Linked DNA regions of Homo sapiens: region 1 is linked to region 2. Evidence: promoter capture Hi-C in 16 types of primary human blood cells and fetal thymus (Javierre and others, 2016). All regions are on one chromosome and are shown on one strand. The core of a region is centred on a gene start or on the middle of the fragment in contact, and the rest is flanking DNA. Distances in the headings are between cores, read along the strand shown.

Evidence for each region. The method cuts DNA at HindIII sites, captures the fragments that hold promoters and counts their contacts. A CHiCAGO score of 5 or more calls a contact.
Region 1: a contact is called between a fragment that was not itself captured here and the fragment with the promoter of DIAPH2 in region 2, in 2 of 17 cell types (total B cells and M2 macrophages). The highest score is 6.2, in total B cells.

The regions. Positions count from the first base shown.
Region 1 is chrX:97,684,807-97,689,590 of GRCh38, forward strand. No RefSeq gene overlaps it. Among named protein-coding and RNA genes, the nearest start is that of DIAPH2-AS1, 120 kb to the left of the region's middle. The HindIII fragment of the contact is 2,121 bases long and covers 1,271-3,391 here.
Region 2 is chrX:96,682,810-96,687,573 of GRCh38, forward strand. DIAPH2 (diaphanous related formin 2) reads left to right here and starts at 2,033. Exons shown (of 27, transcript NM_006729.5): 1 at 2,033-2,381. The coding sequence starts at 2,250. RefSeq lists enhancers at 1,821-2,536, 2,537-3,250. The HindIII fragment of the contact is 2,760 bases long and covers 1,224-3,983 here.

The DNA.
Region 1 (4,784 bases), core at 1,081-3,580, 1.0 Mb after region 2:
CTAGTCCTATGCTTTTTCTTTTTGTTCCAGAGACACCCAGGCTGGAGTGCACAGTCACAGCTCACTGCAGCCTCAACTCCTGGGCTCAGGCAATTCTCCCACCTCAGCCTCCTGAGTAGCTGAGACTACAGGCGTGCACCACCATGCCCAGCTTAGTTTTTATTTTTTGTAGAGATGGGGTCTCCCTACATTGTCTAGCTTGGTCTTGAACTCCTGGCCTCAAATGACCCTCCCACCTCAGCCTCTCAAAGTGCTGGGATTACAGGCATGAGCCACCATGCCTGGCCAATATGATTTCTTGAGTGGACAAAAATTACAGATTGTGCACAAGGCATTGCATAAATGCTGGCATGTTATAGGAGCTGGGTCATAGATGTAATATCATCAGAAACATGCATTGCCATGGAAATCAAGTTTAAAAACTCCTGCATTAAGAACCTCGAAGAGCTTGAGAAAAGGTATAGGACAGATTAATTTCAATTTGATTGTGGGACTAGGGAGATGTTGTGAGAGAAGCTCTGGGCAGGCTCTGCAAAAGGTGTGGGTGGGAAGCTATATCCTGGACAGGAAGGAGAGAACCAGAACAGGTCCTTGGAGAGAAGGCTGCTAAAGTAGATATGAGGGAAGGGGAAAGAAGGCAGGGCATGGAAGAGAATCTTCACATATCTTATAATTTTGCCCAGGACAAGTCCTGTTTGTGCAACCTCATTATCATATACTTAACATTTTTTCATCAGGACAAACTTTCTGTAATGAGATTCCACCTGTCTCATTAACAAGTTAATCAAAGCATTCATGAGCCATACACAGAAACCCACAAGCTCATCTCTTAACACTTGGCAATCTGTACAGCACTTGAGGAAAAAAAGATTGAATACACATGCCAAGGCCAATTTATCTCAAATTAGCAACCAAGAAAATAAATGTAAGAGTAAATGGCAGAAAGGGATCATGATAGTCCATTTCCGTAGGGAGGTGGACTAATAGACGCCCACAGATGAGCTCTAAGTACCTGAATAAGTATTGTGATATTTTCTGTCCTTCATATTTCTAGTTTGCTGTTTTGACCTTCAAGGGAATATTCACAATGTTAAAATGAAAAGGAAAAAAACTTGCACATCCTCAAATTAGGTATGCTGCCACCAGGTGGTTGTAGTATGGCACAGCCATGTCGTCCAGGCAATTAGCATACAGTATAAACAGGTGTCTTAGAAAGAGGATTAGCACACTATTCCCATATTCTATTTTTAAAAAGTTATTACAACGAAAAAGCTTTGGTTAAATGTATAAGGAGATAATTTGCTTATAGATTTTAAGATTTTGCTTTGTTTCAGTTTTGTCTTTGTAAAGAAATGTATGCTTATGTACAATTTGGTATCAGTTTTACTAATCTTTAATTTTGTGATATCACTTTGAATTATACGTTGTAGTCAAAAAGCCACCCTGTAGGCTGGGCCTCAACCTCCTGTAACTTACACTGGATATCAAAATGACCAGGGTACTTATCTCTCAGTGAGGGGCCTACTCTTTTGTCTTTTTGTAGGTAGCCAATTCAACTTGCCTAACTGGTCTGAGATAAGTTCTTTTTGACTTTTCAGTTTACAGAAGCCCTTCTTCTTTTCTCTAAACCTAACCAGGGAATAAGTTAAGAAAAGCACCTTGCTATTTAGACCAATAGTTTGTGTTCTCCATGATGTTATTTGCCATATTTCATCAATAAAGTGTATTGAAGGGAACACCATGGATTTACTAACACTTTCTTTATGGTGTGAAAAGTAGGGAGAAATGTACTCATTCATTATATGAAAAATCCCAACTGGAGATGCCTTAAAATGTGCAAAATATATATTAGTTAGAATTGATAAAATAAGGCAGTAATCTCTCTAATAGACCATTTAATTGCTTTGACTAAAACTACAAGTTCCTTGATTTGCACAAAAAGGTCTCTGATTTGCTTCGCATATCACTTCTAGCTATGTAGTTGAGAGAGTGGCCAGAAAGATCTTTCCAAAACTGGGTTTTTAAAAGGCCAATATTCCATGCTTAAAACAGAATATTCTGAATTAGAAATACATTGGTAGAAAAATTTGTATTGATTATACCATAATATGTCCAACTCTTACGTTTGGATTATGTGAGATTAATATCATCATATCATCATCATCATCATCATCATTGCCATCCACCATTCAGCTATTTCTTGAGCAATTACTACTCACCAGGCTCTGTGCTAGGTGCTGCCTATTGTTACAACAGAACTCAACCAAAGATATCCTGTCAGTTATTCACAAGCCCTCTGGCAACACCTTCTTCATGCTGCAAACCCACATGCACTGTATTTTCGCTATAGCTTTCCATGAAAGAGCAGATGTTATAAAGATCACCCGAAAGTGAATCAGAAGAGTCACAGTCTTTGATGCAACATATAGTAGCACATTCAGGACTCTGTATTTGGCTATGTGAAATTGTTTGGGGAGAATCAAATCTTTCTGGAGCCTTGACTTATCTGTACTTTTATCGTGCCATTTTATGTGTCTTATCTCATATAGGCAATTTAAGTAAAATGACCCATTTACCTGATGTGGCATTTGTTACAAAGGTCATTTCCCACTGTGCCATAGTGAAATAATTAGCATGATGATGTGATGTACGTCTGTTTTGGTATTGTTCTGAACACAGATAATTTATCCCAAAGCATTGTCTTTTGGCACCAAGACATTTATCTGTTCTTCAAAGGTACTTCTGCAAGAGATGATATTATGAAGATAATGAAAGTATGTCCATTACTTTCAGAACGAGTCATTTAGCAAGATGACAAGTGTTGTCCAGGCTTTGTTGCCGGAGTTCTCTGTCTTTTGGGTTCTGACAGTCAGACCACAGGAAAGTGAGCAACTTTAGCATCTGTTGTTGCTTCCTCCTCCCAATCTAAAACATTATTTTTATATAGGGAAAGAATGCAAATTGAGAAACACTTTAGTTTTCTATAATATCATTTATGTACACAGGGGGTTTCGACACTTTTTCTTACCCAGGAATTACTTCCTCATTGTCCACCACCACTATAAGAATGAGAAGGTAGATGTTATCATGTCAGCTTAAAATTCACAGGCAGTTTTCACAAAAGAAGAAAATGGGTTAGGCATGCAGGAAAGAAAGGGTTTCATAAACTATTTGCACAAGAAAAATAAATGATGTTTCCAAAAGACACAAAAGAATGACAGGTAAGATTGCCAATTCAAGATGGCAGATTTAATGAAAAAATTAGCCTCTGATTTCTCCTACAACATTACAAAAATTAAAATAAAGGGATACCATAAAAGGCATAAGCCTCCAATGGAAAGTAAATATGAGAGGTGAGCAGGTAATATTAATAAAATTTTGGGAGCTGGAAAGCTTATGGCCAAGTAATACGTGATTTTAAAATAAAATAAAAAAAAGGCCTAATCCTAAACTGGCAATGGGAAAAGAGAAACAATTTACATTGGCAAATTTTATATTAAGAAACAATTAACAGCCTGGGCAACATGGTGAAACCCCATCTCTACAAATAATAATAAAAAAAAATCAGCTGGACGTGGTAGCGCATGCCTGTAGTTCCAACTACTCAGGAGGCTGAGGTGGGATGATCACCTGAGCTTGGGAGGTCAAGGCTGCAGTGAGCCGTGATCGTGCCACTGCACTCCAGTCTGGGCAACAGAGTGAGACTCTGTCTCAACACAGACAAACTGAAAAACAATTAGATCTAACAAATATCCTCTTCTTCTGAATGCATTGGAGAACCAGCCTTCCTACACCTTGACAGAAGATTGTGAATTTATTTTCTGCAGAAGGTAAAATAGAGGTTCTGGGAAGGGAATGCCAGTCACAGTGGAGGGTTGGGTACTATACTGAAAACAGAAGTATTAAGTCAAAATGTACACTGGGTACTGTAATGAAAACAGGAGTGTTAGTTGAATCTTGAGATCCCCAGCCGTCTCTCCCAACTCCTGTCTCAGAACACCATCATCTAGGCAAGAAATCTGAAGTGCTTTCTTTGGTGAATCTAACTCACATAACAGGAAAGACCTAAAAATACTGAAATCAGTTATTCCCCAAAGAAATGACTCAACCAGAGTACCCTACAAGGAAACATACAAGCTCAGAGCTTATAATTGGCTTTTCAGTTTCTCATTCTTCAATATGAGCAGACAGCCAAGGATGACCAGACAAATGAGGAAAGTCTCAAATATGAATGACAGAGACCATAACAACAAACAAGCACATATATAAAAATCAAACAAAAGTAACCGGGTAGGAACAGACTATGCAGTGAGATATATTATATGAGAAAATATCCATGAAATAATAACAAGTTTTATACACATACACAAACATTCAGGAAATAAGGAAAATATCCTAGAAATTAAAAATATAGCAGAAATACACTCAAAAGATAAAGTTTTAAAGATGAGTTTTAAAGATAAAGTTTTAAAGATAAAGTTATTGGAAAGCAATTAGGAAGTAGAGCAAAAAGAATGATAGAAACAAATAGAAAATTAGAGGATTATTACAGGAAACTCAACATTATAATATTAAGGAGTTTCAGAAAAAGAGGACAGAGAAAATGTAGGAAAGAAGATCAAAGGAATAATTCAAGAAAAATTTCCACTCCTACAAGGCATAAATCTCCATATTGAAAAGGCCCAGGGCTAAAGCACATCACTATGAAATTTCAGGATATCTGGGACCAAGAAGAGATACTACAAACATTCAGGAGGATGAACCAGACTCAGAATGGCATAAAA
Region 2 (4,764 bases), core at 783-3,282:
CTGAAGAAATGTCTACTGGGCAGATTACTGAACCATGTTTGCGCTTGGAGGGCCCTCAGCTATGGACCACACCTATGGCACAAACAGGAATTACGCATTGGCTAAACAGGTCATGTCTTTCTGAAGCACCCATTTTGACTCAATTTTTCAGGAGAGGAGACATTTATATAAATTGTGTTTGTGTGTGTGTGTATGTAGTGAGTTGAATTCAAAATATACACTAAACTTTAAGTAAGTAAAACGGGAACTTCAACAAAGCAAAGTTACCATGGGGCTCCTTGAGCACCCTGTTTGGGAGCATGTATTCCCTCTTCTCTGCTGTCCTTTGGTAGCTTGCCACCTTAGGAGTAGAGAAGTCACACCTCCATGATTAAAAAGAAAGTCAGCCGGGCACGGTGGCTCACGCCTGTAATCCCAGCTCTTTGGGAGGCCAAGGCAGGCGGATCACCTAAGCTCAGGAGTTTGAGAGCAGCCTGACCAACACGGAGAAACCCCATCTCTACTAAAAATGCAGAATTAGCTGGGCGTGGTGGTGGGTCCCTGTAATCCCAGCTACTTGGGAGGCTGAGGCAGGAGAATCGCTTGAACCCGGGAGGTGGAGATTGCGGTGAGCTGAGATTGCACCTTTGCACTCCAGCCTGGGCAACAAGAGGGAAACTCTGTCTCAGAATTAAAAAAAAAAGAAAGTTAATGACAATGACAAAGCTAGAATTAAAGCTGTTTTCAGATATCTGGTGTTCTTTTCATTCTACTGCCCAAGTTAGCTGTCTCCTTGCACCTATAGCATGGTCAAATGCATCCTAATGCACTCTCAATAAATATGTTCAGATACAAATTCCATTCAGCATATTAAATTTAGGCCGAAGGGGAGAAGGTCAAAAGGAGTCATAGTCTGGAGATATCTTCAGTAATAGGTGTATGGCATGTTTATAGATTTCATATTTAAATTTACTTTATAGGTAGCTTTCCTAGCATATGTGCTCCTATTCTATGATGGTGGTTCATTCAAATCCTACCCACCCCGTCTAATGTTCTCAGTGTGTACCTTTACTTTTAAAGGGCATCATTTAAAGAGGATGGAAGAAATACAGTGTGGGTACTATATTTTGTCCTGAGGACAAAATGCTAGGTATGACGCAAGGACTTAAGACTATCGTCCCAACAGTGCCCTGCTGCTGCACAAAAACACCTAGCATTTGTCTAGGGATTTTCATTTACAACAAAGCTTTGACACACATGATCTTATTCACTCCCCACAACAACTCTAAACTAGTTCGGGAACCTGAAAATAGCACTCAATTCAATTGCTAGCTGTATGTAAGTGTTTTGGTTATAGAACCTAACAATCCCCTAGGGATTAAGCGGTGGGCGCCTGCTGCTTCAACAACCCTGCAGCAAGGGAATAAAGGAACAACTGTATTTCTTCGGTCACAACGTAATCACGACAACAGAAAGCACTCACTCTTTCCACTCTGACCCACACACAGTCTGTCGAGGCAATTAATCAGCACTCCCGGTGGTTTTCCTATAGGATGCCAGTTCCCTTGCCAATCAAGTCTTTCCACAGACTGTAGCAGGACCACACCCCCGGAGAGGCCTCAGGGAGGGAAGGTGCTGTGGCCCACAGAAGTGAAAGCTGATACTCAGGTTGACCCGCCAGTGAAACTTACAGGCGGATCTTCCCGGGCCTCAGTTTCCCCATCTCTAAAATGGGCTACCCTTCCTTTCTCTTGACTAGTTCCCTCCCTGTTCTCGCTGGGCCACTAGGAAGTGAAATCAGTGCCTAACCGCAGCTGAAAGTGCTCTGTTAGGCTCCAGTCACCGCGCCGGGCATGCTCAGTAGCTGGGGCCGGCTCGGCTGCGGGAGTAGGAAGCAGCTTTGCGCGCCCGGGCGGCCGATGCGGGCACTTTGAAGAATCACGTGTGTTGAGGCCCTCTTAAAGAGATAGGCACCTACTTTTCCCTCCACCCTAAACACCGCCCTGAGGGCGGCGGCGACCGTGGTAATTGCAACTGCTCAGGGGCAGGGCTTGCCCCAGCGCCGAGTAGTGGCAACGGCGTGGTTGCGTCGGGGGTGCCTGGGAGCCTGGAGTCCCGGGGGCCTGAAATCGGCAGCTTCCCGGGCAGACACTCTCTCCCTCAGGAAGAGGTGCCGCCGAGTCAGCGCGGGGCAGTGTGAGCGCCCCGAGGTGCTTTCTCAGTTGAGGAGAGGTGGGGTTACAGGGCACAGGTGACAGGGCCGGAGAAAGATGGAGCAGCCCGGGGCGGCGGCGTCGGGAGCGGGAGGCGGCAGCGAGGAACCCGGTGGGGGCCGGAGCAACAAGCGGAGCGCGGGGAACCGGGCCGCCAATGAAGAGGAAACGAAAAACAAACCCAAATTGGTGAGTGCTCCCGCAGCCCCCGCCGGCCTTAGGGACAGGGAGAGCCCCGGGATCCTCCTGCCATTGAACACGGGGGCACCCGGGGCCCCCTCCCAAGGATGACCGCGACCTCGCTGTGCAACTCGGGGAGCCGCTAAAGGAGTGGCCACGCCGAGGCGCGGAGACGGCGTGGGGGCGGAAGAGCACCCCCTTCTCTACTTAACCCCTTTCTCACTCTTGTCAGCCCGGGAGGCGGTGCGGGAAGGAGAAAGGCCCAGCCCCAACTTGGGGACACCCCGAGTACTGGGTAGGGCTGTTGTTTGTCTAACTTGTGGGCGCAAACCTTTGCGCGATTCCATTCTCCTCCCACTTCTTGTTAGTTGCTGTTTTGCCTCCTAACGCGTAGGGTCCGGGGCAGGGGAACCTCCCTCCTTTTTATTCCAAGTCCTTGGGAGCCCACCTACAGCTTCGCAAATCAAGAAGAACACTATTTATGCTCCCAGTCTTTCTACTTTACCAGAAATCTCAGGAAGAGGCGCCTACGTGCCTTTTTCCTCCTCCTTGCCTCTCTCCATGTGCTCTCCCAAGAAATGTTTCTTTGGAAGGGTGGGGGCGCGTGGGAGTTTGAGGCTGGGTGAGGTACCACCAACTGTCGAGTGTGTGTAATAGGCATAGTCATACAGTACTTCCACTTAGTTGATTAAGAACGCTCAAAAGCAGTAGGCACAAACTGTGCAAATCTCACCGTGCTGATAGTGTGAACCGATGGTAGCAGTCCATTTCCTGCCACTGAATGTGCAGAGGAATGAAATCGATGAGGCCTGGTATTGCATTGGGAAATACTGGAGTTTCCTCAGCTCATCAGAAGGGTTCCGCTTTTTGTAAACTTTCTAATTTGGGTGGTGTGAGGGGAAAGGGTTTTCCTGTACAAATTCAGCAGATACTCCTTAGAGCTGTATTCTTAGTCCAGATCCGAAGCACAAGCCACATGTTGAATGTATAGATTTCAGCTTTAACTACCAACTTGATTATAATAGACAAGGAGAGGGTGACATATAAATAAAGCCGTTTCTTATGGCATCTGGCCATTTGGTTTGGATCCAGTACAAAACTGTGGTTTAATCAGTGATTAAAAATTTAAGTAAAAAGTTAACTGATAGTTTCCACAAATGGTTTGGTACGTCTAGCAAGAATCTGCCACTTTTAAGAAGTATGCTTTCGAGAAAAAAAAAAACACTTATCTCTGTTAGTAGTAACACCTTGATTATATTCTTCTCTTCCCTTTAGCCATTTGTCCTGATTCATCTTTTATGTTTTACTTGCTTTGACAAGGTAACTAGATAGTTATGAGATCGTATCATTTTCAGTTCCTAGCTAACTTCACTGTTCCGGTTCCTAGCTAACTTCACTGTTCCGTGTTGAACATAGCTTGATACGGTAGAACAAGATTTGAATCCAAGAGTTTGTTAATATTAACATGAATTTTCTTTTTTTGCTCAAACATAACTTTTGAGCCTTACGTGATTTTACAAGCAGATGTGTCAGAGTTAACAAAAACAAATTTAGGAAGACATTGTGGCACATTTTAAGGCAAGCAAGTTGACCAAACAGTAAGATTTAGTAAGCTTTTCAGGAAAGAATTCATCTGGGATTCTTAGAAGTTTGCTAGTAAGATACAACTTTACTTAGATGAAATTTTTTTATTTTGAGTATTATGTTAATAATCTCTGAACTAGTCCTTAATTTGTGTGTGTATATGAGTGTAAAGGAGTTGTGGTATGGGATTATAAAAGAGAGCCATATGGTGATAGAAATTATTTGTGTAGGTGATCTTGGGGCATAGGGGTTCTTAAACTCCTGAAATTGTATGAAAATATTTGAGTGTATATGGGTACATTTATTTTTCTGGGCCCCATGGCTTTCATCAGTTTTTCAAAGGCATCCATTACCTATAGAAGAGTAAGAACTATGGCATTACAAAAGATAGAAAGTAAAGGAAAGAATAGTTGATTCCACTCTAAGTTACTGAGTAGGGAAGAAGGGGAAATGGCATTGACCACACAGGTGATTGATATTGAAACGAATTCTTCTAGTGGTAAAAAAGAAGTTAACTACTCAATGTCTACATAGATTAAAATTTCCGCTACAGAGGAAAATTAATTCAGTCGCTCCAGTATAATGGATTCATAAGGTATAAGGCTTGTGTAGTTTGGTTGTTTTCATTTAGTTCCTCAGAATTCTGGAAAAATGGAAATGGAACACATATTTTCTTTTCTTTTTTTTTTTTTGGGACGAAGTCTCGCTCTGTTGCCATGGCTGGAGTCCAGTGGCGCGATCTTGGCTCACTGCAACCTCTGCCTCCCGGGTTCAAGTGATTCTCCTGCCTCAGCCTCCTGAGTAGCTG